Linked DNA regions of Homo sapiens: region 2 is linked to region 1. Evidence: promoter capture Hi-C in human tissues and cell types (Jung and others, 2019). All regions are on one chromosome and are shown on one strand. Each heading gives the region's core, a stretch centred on a gene start or on the middle of the fragment in contact. The rest is flanking DNA. Distances are from core to core; before and after follow the strand shown. Region 1 holds the start of P4HTM (prolyl 4-hydroxylase, transmembrane). Region 2 holds the start of C3orf62 (chromosome 3 open reading frame 62).

The links. Contacts are between HindIII fragments. The study calls those that stand out against the background at their distance.
Region 2: a contact is called between the fragment with the promoter of C3orf62 here and the fragment with the promoter of P4HTM in region 1, in 1 of the 25 tissues and cell types used here (small bowel).

The regions. Positions count from the first base shown.
Region 1 is chr3:48,987,929-48,993,358 of GRCh38, reverse strand. It overlaps P4HTM (prolyl 4-hydroxylase, transmembrane), which reads right to left and starts at 3,118. Exons shown (of 9, transcript NM_177939.3): 1 at 2,749-3,118; 2 at 2,445-2,526. The coding sequence starts at 3,102. It overlaps LOC124909376 (a long non-coding RNA gene), which reads left to right and starts at 3,487. Exons shown (of 2, transcript XR_007095903.1): 1 at 3,487-3,811. RefSeq lists enhancers at 2,146-2,707, 3,365-3,524, 3,272-3,834, 3,835-4,398 and a silencer at 2,875-3,254. The HindIII fragment of the contact is 19,056 bases long and covers 1-5,430 here.
Region 2 is chr3:49,274,415-49,279,844 of GRCh38, reverse strand. C3orf62 (chromosome 3 open reading frame 62) reads left to right here and starts at 2,613. Exons shown (of 3, transcript NM_198562.3): 1 at 2,613-3,418. The coding sequence starts at 2,973. It overlaps USP4 (ubiquitin specific peptidase 4), which reads left to right. Exons shown (of 22, transcript NM_003363.4): 21 at 943-1,031; 22 at 1,394-2,701. The coding sequence ends at 1,552. RefSeq lists a silencer at 2,590-2,789 and an enhancer at 2,930-2,999. The HindIII fragment of the contact is 22,568 bases long and covers 1-5,430 here.

The DNA of each region.
Region 1 (5,430 bases), core at 1,869-4,368:
CTGGCTTTATCCCATACTTCCCACAAGTCGTTGCTCAGATTTTTTTTTTTTTTTTTTGAGATGGAGTTTCATTCTTGTTACCCAGGCTGGATGCAATGGCACAATCTTGGCTCACCACAACCCCTGCCTCCTGGGTTCAAGCGATTCTCCTGCCTCAGCCTCCCAAGTAGCTGGGATTACAGGCATGTGCCACAACGCCCTGCTAATGTTGTATTTTTAGTAGACGGGGTTCCCCCATGTTGGTCAGGCTGGTCCCGAACAACCTGACCTCAGGTGATCCACCCGCCTCGACCTCCCAAAGTTCTGGGATTACAGGCGTGAGCCACCGCGCCCAGCCTTGCTCAAATATTTTTTTCAGGCAGGTCCACCTTGGCTACCTTATTAAGGGTTCCAGCCAGGCATGGTGGTTCACACCTGTAATCCCAGCACTTTGGGAGGCTGAGGAGGGCAGATCACCTGAGGTCATGAGATTGAGACCATCCTGGCTAACACGGTGAAAGCCCGTCTCTACTAAAAATGCAAAAAATTAGCCGGATGTGGTGGCGCATGCCTGTAATCCCAGCTACTTGGGAGGCTGAGGCAGGAGAATCACTTGAACCCGGAAGGCGGAGGTTGCAGTGAGCTGAGATCATACCATTGCATTCCAGCCTGGACAACAAGAGAGAAACTTAGTCTAAAAAAAAAAAAAAAAAAAAAGAGTTCTAATCCCAGCTGAACTTCTGCCTTACTGTCTGCTATTTTTTTTTTTCTTTGAGATAGGGGTCTCTCTCTGTTGCCCAGGCTGGAATGCAGTGGTGCGATCTTGGCTCACTGCAACCTCTGCCTCCTGGGTTCAAGTAATTCTCATGCCTCAGCCTCTTGAACAGCTGGGATTACAGGTGTACACCACCACACCCGGCTAATTTTTGTATTTTTAGTAGAGATGAGATTTCACCATGTTGGTCAGGCTGGCCTCAAATTCCTGACCTGAAGTGATCTGCCTGCCTCAGCCTCCCAAAGTGCTGGGATTATAGACATGAGCCACCACGCCCGGCCCTGTCTGCTATTTTATGTTGGCAAAAAAGAAAAAAGAAAAAAAATCTGCCTTACTTGTTTGCAATCACATATCACCATCTGACACACCAATGTATATATTTATTTGTTTGTTTATTGTCTGTTTCCTCTTCATTTGAATGTCAGCTTCAGGGTTTTGTTTCATTGTTTATATTTAGTTCAATGCTGTGTTCCTGGCACCTAAAATAGTGCCTGGCACAGACTTCAACGTTACTCAATAGTAATAGTAATAATAACAACAACCAGCTTTGGGTGCCTCTCCCACAACAGGACTGACAGCATAATCTATTTCCCTACAAACAGCATGCATATGACATCATTCTGACAGGTCTAGGCATAATCCCCAACCAGGACCCTCTGCCTTGGAGGTAATGACTTGTGCTCAGATGTTCTACTTTGGCCCCAGCTCCTAACCCATTCCATCCCCCGGCAGGCAGGAATGGCCCTGGGTTTGCAAATATGTTTGTCACGGAGGCCAGGTACCCAGGGCTGGGCTACACAAACACCCTGGACAATGTCCATGGGACTAGGGGTCCCCACCCAGTTGACACTGGTGGTCTTTGAAGGACTCTGGGGTCTTCACAGCTCGCACTGTGGCTTTACTGCATAGGCCTTAGAGGCAGGCTATGTGGGTTCTAATCCTAGCTTCACCACTGAAGTAACCGTGTCAGCCTGGCCAAGCCACAGCAGCTCTCTGTCCCTAACTTTCCCCCTCACTGGCCTGAGTAGGATCTACACCCACTTCACAGAGGGGTTGCAGGAATTAAATGAAATAATCATATGAAGGCAAGCACATAACTAGAGCTCAGAAACGATGAGCTATGTTGTGGCTCCAACTGGAGTCACCCTAGAAAGCTTTGCCCATGATGGCTGAACAAAGACTTCACCTTAAGAAGAATCTCAGAGTGCTGGCAGCAAAAGCTGAGCCTCTGACTGGTACTCCAGTGGAGGAGGCTGGGGGGGTACCAGTTTATCTACATTTGGACGGCCTGCTTCTCATCAGACCACAAGGCCCACTTCGGCAGTGGGATTTTCCCCAGAGGTCCTGAGGTCGGCAGAAAGCTGGTTATCAGTCTCCCACCTTCCTCCCAGTTCTAGAAGGTGACAGAATTAATGGTGGCACGGAAGACAGGTGCAATGAAACGTTTAGACACCAGCCTCAGGCTCACCCTGCCAGCCCTGTGATGGAAGAATGGACTGCAGGGAGTTGGGATAAGAGGGAGTGTTACCCTATTTCGAGGACGGGGAAGGTCCTTCACTTTGGTAATCCTCTGGAAGGGCTGCTCTGAAGCAGCCATTTTCAAAATAGAGGTCACGTGGTCACAACGAGCCTCAAGGTGGCCACCAAACCGCAGCCCCTGGCCCTTCCCAGGAGTATCTGGCGGACTTACCGAAGAGCAGCGGCTTGAGGCTGAGGGTTCGGATGAAGTGATCCCTGTCGGTGACCAGCTGGACCTTACGCTCGTGCCCCACCTAAGGAAAAGGCGCACAGCGGGCAGCTGGGGCGCCAGACCGCGCTGCCCAAGAAGGGCCAAGTCGCCCCGGCCCGGAGAGCGACAGCAGGCGAGTGAGTGGGAGCGCGCGGGACCGACGCAGAGCAGCGCCGGGGGCAGCGTGGGGACCCGGGCTGAGCGCCGGTCCTCTCGGGCTCAGCCGTGCAGGGCCTGGAGCGCGGCGGGGCAGGGAGGTCCTCACCTTGATGCCCTCCAGCCGGGTGAGGGGACCTAAGGTGGGCTCGGGCCCGGGGCCCTGGGCACGGTGTTGGGGCCCGGGATCGCTGCTTTCGTCGCCGTTGCTGTAGTGCACGAAGAGCAGCAGCGCCAGCACGTTACCCAGGTACAGGTGCACGAACACCATCAGCACCAGGAAGTAGGCGCGCGAGCAGATGCCGCGGGGCTTGCACAGCGGACGCACCGGTGCGTCCTCGCCGTCGCCCAGCCCGGCCGCCGCCTGAGCCTGGCAGTGGTCTGGCGGCGCCCACTGCGGCCTCGAGGCCTCCTCGGCCGCCGCGGTCTCAGGCCGCTGGCCTGTCACCGCCGCTGCCGCCATGGCACCCAGGTCGCGCGCGCGCCCAGGGGAGGGGCCGCGGGGGTGCCCGCGCTGCGCAGTCGCCCGGACAACGGCCGCCAGGCCCGCGAGCGCCGCGGTCACTAGGAGACGGTGCCTGGGGGTGCTGAGCCCGCCCGGAGCCGCCTGCGTCCGCGCCGGGCTCGGCCTTCCTGCGCCTTGAGCCCCAGCCCACGCTGGGGCTTCTCTTCCCAAGCTGGGTTGCCGTCGGGCAGAGCTGTACACTCTCCAAGTCAGAAGCCAAGGTCCCAAGCGTAGACGCGGACAAGAGCGGCACCATTAAGGCATACACTAGTGGGAGCTTCTCGGTGCCTGCGTGAAGACGCCCTCTTGCCTCCGGGAAAAGTATCGTCTGCATCTTCTTGCTCCAGGAGCGGGGGTGGGGAGCGCAGCGCGGAGGAGGCAGCGCTGAGATGACTCAACAGTGCGGCATTTGGGGGCGCCGCGGAGGCTGGGACTGCGTAAGCGGCGATAGGGTAGGACCCACAGCCTCCTCGCAGGCATTCTTGGAGCTCGGTTCCGCGGTCGGTCCGGATCTCCCGGGAAGTCTCGCCGGAGTCAGGCAGGCCTTAGGAAGAAGCTGCCTGATGTGCAAGGTTTCATAGGCCGTCAGAGGGGGCATCCTGGAGGAGCCCTGGCATCAGGAAAGTGAGCCCCCCATGGCAGCCCGCAGGAATGAACCAGTGCTCAGGTATATGGAACACTCCTTGCATCAAAGCTGGCACGTGTGAAGAGGCGGGAAGGGACTCTTCCATAACTGAGACACCATTACCTCAGAGAAAAATTAAACAGATTATCACCAAAAACGGGGGTGGGGGGAGGACATACCTACCAGTGGTCAAGTGCCAAGGCATCCCTGCTCTTCTAGAGCTGGTTATCCTCAGGAAGAGATTACTACACGCCCTCAGGGCAGAAGCTGACCCCCCTCCCCGAGGTGGACTTGCAGGCAAGAGCAACACTTTTAAGGCAGGTCACACTGGTGGTTTCTCCCTACCCTGGTTAAGACCCCCACTACCTCTACTCCCATCTCCTCTCCCTTCCCCATAGCAAAGCATAGTCTGCATTTTCTAGTCCCCTCAAGTCAAGGCAGGCCAGGGGCTCCAAGGGCAGGCCCACCTCTTTCTTCTAAGATTTTTTGTGTGTGTGTGACGGAGTCTCACTCTGTCGCCCAGGCTGGAGTGCAGTGGCGCGATCTTGGCTCACTGCAACCTCTGCCTTCCGGGTTCAAGCAATTCTCCTGCCTCAGCCTACCAAGTAGCTGGCATGCGCCACCATGGCGGGCCAATTTTTTTTTTTGTATTTTTATTTATTATTATTTAGTTTTAATTTTTTAATTATAATTTTTTTTTTTTTTTTGATACAGAGTCTCGCTCTGTCGCCAGGCTGGAGTACAGTGGTGTGATCTCAGCTCACCGAAAGCTCCGCCTCCCGGGTTCAAGCAATTCTCCTGTCTCAGCCTCCCAAGTAGCTGGGACTACAGGTGCCCGCCACAATGCCCGGCTAATTTTTATATTTTTAGTAGAGACAGGGTTTCACCATGTTGGCCAGGCTGGTCTCAAACTCGTGACCTCAGGTGTTCCACCCACCTTGGCCTCCCAAAGTGCTGGAATTACAGACATAAGGCACCACACCCAGACCAAATCTCCTAAATTCTTAAATATAATAAACCAACCAACAGAACCATAATTTTACCAAGGATCTCATGGCTTTCTCATACCTTTTCTGGAATGAAGTTGAGACTATTTCCCTCTAGCCTTTTTTTTTTTTCCCCGAGACAGAGTCTTGCTCTGTCACCCAGGCTGGAGTGCAGTGGCTTCATCTCGGCTCACTGCAACCTCTGCCTCCCGGGTTCAAGCAATTCTCCTGCCTCAGCCTCCCAAGTAGCTGGGATTACAGGCACGTGCCACCACGCCCAGCTAATTTTTATATTTTTAATAAAGATGGGGTTTCACCATGTTGGCCAAGCTGGTCTCAAACTCCTGACCTCGTGATCCGCCCGCCTTGGCCTCCCAAAGTGCTGGGATTACAGGCATGAGCCACCGCGACCGGCCCCTCTAGCCTTTTAAAAACTAGAATTTGATCACCATAAAATCTGTACTTTGCTTAACCTATTTTCCTGAACTCCATTCTTACACCTATTACCTGAACTAGGCCTACCACTAAGCACAGGTACTGATAGCTCATTGCCAGACAACAGAAAGCAAGCAGGTTGCAGGGCTGCTCCACCTGCTGTCAGCTGTGGGAATTTCACAACCACATCAGAAACCAGAATTTCTCAGTCTTTTAAAAGCCTGGCCCTTTGATGCCATG
Region 2 (5,430 bases), core at 1,364-3,863, 290 kb before region 1:
ATTGAAAGCCACCGTTGCTGCTATTGTGTCAAGCACAGACTGTGTGAACTGGCCTTGGGCACCTTCTCTGTTGCCCTTTCCCATGATCCTCACCACCACTTTGTGCAGTCAATGCTATAGTGAGGAAACTGAGGCTGAAGTGTTAAACACCTTACCTAAAACCACACAGTAAGTTGACACTGGATATCAGATCTCCATTGGGTTCTGTAGTTTCTGAGAGTCTGGGTGGAGCAGGAACTGGGCTGGGATTGCTGTAATAAACACATCCTGCTTGGGAATAGTGTAAAGTCAAGACAAGAAGCATTGCCTCTGGGAAATGCTTGAATCATTGTGGGAAACTGTTACCTAACCACAGACTCTGGACTCCTAGTTTTAGAGAAAGATAAATTTTTTTTTTTTTGGATATGGAGACTAAGGTATGTTGTTCACATCCCAGCTCTGCAAACCCAAACACCCAATGTTCCTCTAACTGGGATTATTCTGTAGGCTCCCGAGGCACTAAGCATTCTGTTGATGTTAGTAGCCACCTGCCTAGATGCAATGGGGGAGACTGACTTGGCATGTCCTTGTGAGAGCTATTGTTTTGCTTAAATCTTAGAAGTTTCAGCTCCTTTTATGGGTTCCCTGGTTTTGGATTATTGCACATAGCCATCCTGAAGATTGGCACTGAATAGCTCTGTTTTTTCTATTAGTTTCCCAAAATTATAGTTTAAAATCTTGGTCCCTGACAGCTCCATTTTTAGCCTTTTGATCCTTTTTGAGAAGGAACAGATTAGAAAAGAAGGTGAGTTGTTTTTTGGTTGTTAAGACACACACTGTAAACTTTTTTAATTTCAGGGGTTTTGTTTTGGGGATTTTTGTGTTTATTTAGTGCAAGCCTAATAAGCTAGCCAGATTAATTCTCTGGAGACCGCTAGAGTATTTTCTTTGTTGACTTGGCAGACACTGCATATGCGAAGAACAAACTGAATGGTAAATGGTATTACTTTGATGATAGCAACGTGTCCCTGGCCTCTGAGGATCAGATAGTGGTGAGTAGGCCATGATATGTGGTTCTTCCTCATGTCGTTATGGATTAAAGCTGGGAAGAGCCTCTATCAGGCTAGTTGGTTATTTCATCATCCTGATGTGATAGTGGGAGCTAGGTGTGACAGAGCTGGCTGGCATTCCTTCAGGGACCTTCATAAATGAGAAGCTCAGCTCTCCTCAGAGTTCTCTGCACAAGGCTCCTTCCATTTCCTGCTGCCTGGCAGGGGCAGCCATCCTCAGGTGGAAGGGTCTCCTCTGTGTGGATATGGCAGATCCTTGAGGGTTTTGGACAGCTAGAGAAAAGCTGGGGAAAATGGGTGATTTTTCCAAGCACTGAATGGTCTTTCCCCCTCTTGTATTTCAGACTAAAGCAGCTTATGTGCTATTTTACCAACGTCGAGATGATGAATTTTATAAGACACCTTCACTTAGCAGTTCTGGTTCCTCTGATGGAGGGACACGACCAAGCAGCTCTCAGCAGGGCTTTGGGGATGATGAGGCTTGCAGCATGGACACCAACTAATGCTGACTCCACGATCCTGCCACCCTGTAGCGCCAGTGTAATCCCCCAGGAGAACATCTTTGACACTCTGCAGACTGCTAGTGTTCTGTCTAAAAACCAGACAAGGAAATACCCTTCTTTTATGAGCAGAAGGAAACAAAAAAAAAAAAAGAAGACCGTTTACCTAGAAGAAGCTATGTCAAGAGGCTGAATTATTTTTATTTTTAAACAGGTGGTGAGAAATTTCTGTGAAACCTGTGAAGCTGAAAAGGGGGTGGGATGGGGGTACTCAATGGAGTATGTCTGATGGATCCCGAAGAATGGAGAGGAACACAGGCGCTGAGTATGGAGCAGCCTGGAGACCCACCCCACCTGCAGGGCTGCCCTGAGCGCCTGGATTTCTGGTTCTGATGCCAATACTAGTCACCCCAAGTAGTCTGCTCACAGTAACCCAAACCTCAAGTAAACTCCCCTTTCCCTCGCTATGTGCACTGATATGGGTTTATAATTTTCTGAAAGTTACCCACTGAAGCCCATTTCTCCGTTGAGTCATCTTGTAATTTCCAGCTTTCTCCCCGCTAAGGAAGATATCTAGTGTTGGGGATCCTGGCCCCTCAACCTCCTGTGGAACCCAGCAGTTCTGTTATATCCCCTGCTACCCTAGATGAATTAAGACGGTTAAATACTGTGTGGAACTTTTATTAGATAACACACTTTTTATTAGATAACGCTTAAAGGAAGTCAGTACATAAAACTGCCCGGTGCTGTGTCCCGTCTAGTTGTTTCCATGTTGGCTTGAGAACAGAAATCTTTGTGGGAGTTAGCCGGGAAAGGGCTCCAGTTCATGGCGATTTAGGGTAGTAATACATTTTGGTGTTACCCAGATGCTTTCTAGAACGGGTTCTTTCCTCATCCCTGCCAAGACTCTTCCCGGGGCCCCCATTCGAAAGCCCCGTCCCCACTCCCACCGCGGGGCCAGCCGCTGCGTGTGGGCAAGGCCTTAAGGAACCGGACGTATGGGTCCGGGATTTTTTGTCTGACCTTCAACCTAATCCGTGGGGGTTTGGGGCCTGCGCGGGGCACGCGCATGCGATGACCGTTGGATGGGTCGGCGTCACTGCGCTGCGGGTGAGGACAAGGACGTGGCTGCCGACTCGCCAAAGGGGGGGTGCCGGTAGGGCCAGCGGCCTGGGAGCCGCGGTGGGGCGGGAGGCAGCGGCGGGGCGGGCCAGGAAGCTGTGGGAAGTGGGGCGGGGCGTCTTTGGGGCTTCTGGCAGATGGCGGGTTCCTCCGCGAGAGCCGAGAACCGCCTACTCCAGGAGGAAAGCCCGAGGGTTGTGGGTCCTGCTATAGCCAGGGCCAAGCTCCAGGAAATCGTGGCCATTCAGGGGTAGTTTGCAGCCTCATTTGTAACATTATTGTGTTGTCCTGTGCATTTCCAATGCATTACATAAAGACATGGTCGCTTTTAGGAGAAATGTCTGAAAAACTAAGAAGATGCAGAAAGGAACTGACTGCAGCCATTGACCGGGCCTTTGAAGGAGTTAGTTATTCCCAGGAGTGCACAGGCCAGCAGAGGCTGGAACTGAGCGCCGCGCCGCTCTCCTTCTCGCTGCCCGTGCACAGGCTCCTCTGCAGAAGACATCCTCTGGCAGCCTGCTCTTCTGCTGCTCCTTTTGCTGCTGTCCCATGTGCTCCTGAGAATGAGAACCCTGCCTTTGCAACAAACCATGCCCCGGTAAATGCAAAACCACATGCTCTGTGCCCCGAGAGAAAACCTCTAACCAGCAAGGAAAATGTATTGATGCATTCCTCCATTTTGGCACCTGAAAGAGAGTCTTGGAGAACTGCAGGAGAGGGGGAAAACTGGAGAAAAGAAAATTTAAGGTGATTCTAATTTTGATGGTTTAACAGCTACAATTAAGGGGATTCTTGTTTCTGAAAAAGTTGTTGAAGATCCTAGATTTAGTTCATGACAGTGCTCTTGCCTCCTCTTGGCAGCTCTGTGACTGCATTTGGGGAGTTGACAGACATTCTTCAGAATCTGGCCTAGGAAACAGTTATATTTTGTGTATATGTTCCAGTTGAGGGGCTAGTTGTCAATCGTTGATGTCAAAAACCAGTCATGGAAACCACTTTGCAGTACCCAAAGGGGTAGTGGATGTAAAATAACCGGGTTTTAAAAATAACCTTATTTTTTAAGTTGCAGAAACAAAAGTCTTAATTCCATCTTAACTCCTGTGTTTGAATCTGGACACTGGGGCCTTTGATACCCTCCTTTGCCCACATTAGGGAGAGGCTTAATTGAAGGCTGGGCCCTACTTCCTGGCTTCATCTTTGCCTCTGCTCCCCGCTCTTACCCCAGATCTTTTTGGACCATCACCAGGTCTCTTCTAGACTTTTTCTTCTCCCGAGTAACTTGAAATTGCCTGGTCCCAGGCACCTTGACTTGGAGAAGGGATGAATGTATGAGATGAAACTTCAGGCCGGGCGCGGTGGCTCACACTTGTAATCCCAGCACTTTGGGAGGCCGAGGCGGGCAGATCACGAGGTCAGGAGATCGAGACCATCCTGGCTAACACGGTGAAACTCTGTCTCTACTAAAAATACAAAAAATTAGCCGGGCGTGGTGGCGGGCGCCTGTAGTCCCAGCTACTCGGGAGGCTGAGGCAGGAGAATGGCATGAACCCGGGAGGCGGAGCTTGCAGTGAGCCGAGATCACGCCACTGCACTCCAGCCTGGGCGACAGAGCGAGACTCCGTATCAAAAAAAAAAAAAAAAAAAAAAAAAAAAACTTCAAAGTTCTGCCATCTTGGCTGCTTCATAGGAAGGGGATAAAGAGGCCATTTAATTGGTTCAACTCCACAAGAATTTTTTTCCTTTCAACTCCACAAATATTTATATTGGTACTCATAAGCAGTGCAGGCCTTGCCGGGTGTGGTGGCACGCCTGTAATCTCAGCACTTTGGGAGGCTGAGGTGGGTGGATCGCTTGAGGTCTGGTGAAACCCCGTCTCCACTAAAAATACAAACATAAGCCGAGCGTGGTGGCGCGCGCCTATGATCCCAGCTACTTGGGAGGCCGAGGCAGGAGAATTGCTTGAATCCTGGAGGCAGAGGTTGCAGTGAGCTGAGATCTTGCCATGGCACTCCAGCCTGGGCAACAGAGCAAGACTCCATCTTAAAAAAAAAAAAATGCTGGGCACAGTGGCTCACGCCTGAATCCCAGCACTTTGAGAGGCTGAGGCGGATGAATCACCTGAGGTCAGGAGTTTGAGACCAGCCTGGCCAACATGGTGAAACCCCGTCTCTACTAAAAATAGAAAAATTAGCTGGGTGCCGTTGCGGCCGCCTGTAATCCCAGCTGCTCCAGAGGCTGAGACAGGAGAATCGCTTGAACCCAGGAGAAGGAGGTTGCGATGAGCCGAAATTGCGCCCTTGCACACCAGCCTGGGCGACAAGAGCAAGACTCTGTCTTTAAAACAAACAGGCCAGGCGCGGTGGTTCACTCCTGTAATCCCAGCACTTTGGAAGACTGAGGCGGGCAGATCACCTGAGGTCAGGAGTTCGAGACCAGCCTGGCCAACATGGTGAAACCCCCATCTCTACTAAAAATACAAAAATTAGCTGGGCGTGGTGGCAGGCGCCTGTAATCCCAGCTACTCAGGAGGCTGAGGCAGGAGAATCACTTGAACCTGGGAGGCAGAGGTTGCAGTGAGCCGTGATTGCGCCATTGCACTCCAGCCTGGGGGACAAAGCGAGACTTCATCTCAAAAAAATAAATAAAAAATAAAAATAAATAAATAAGTAAACAAATGCAGGCTGGGTGAGGTGGCTCATGCCCGTATTCCCAGCACTTTGGGAGGCTGAGGCGAGTGGATCGCCTGAGCCCAGGAGTTC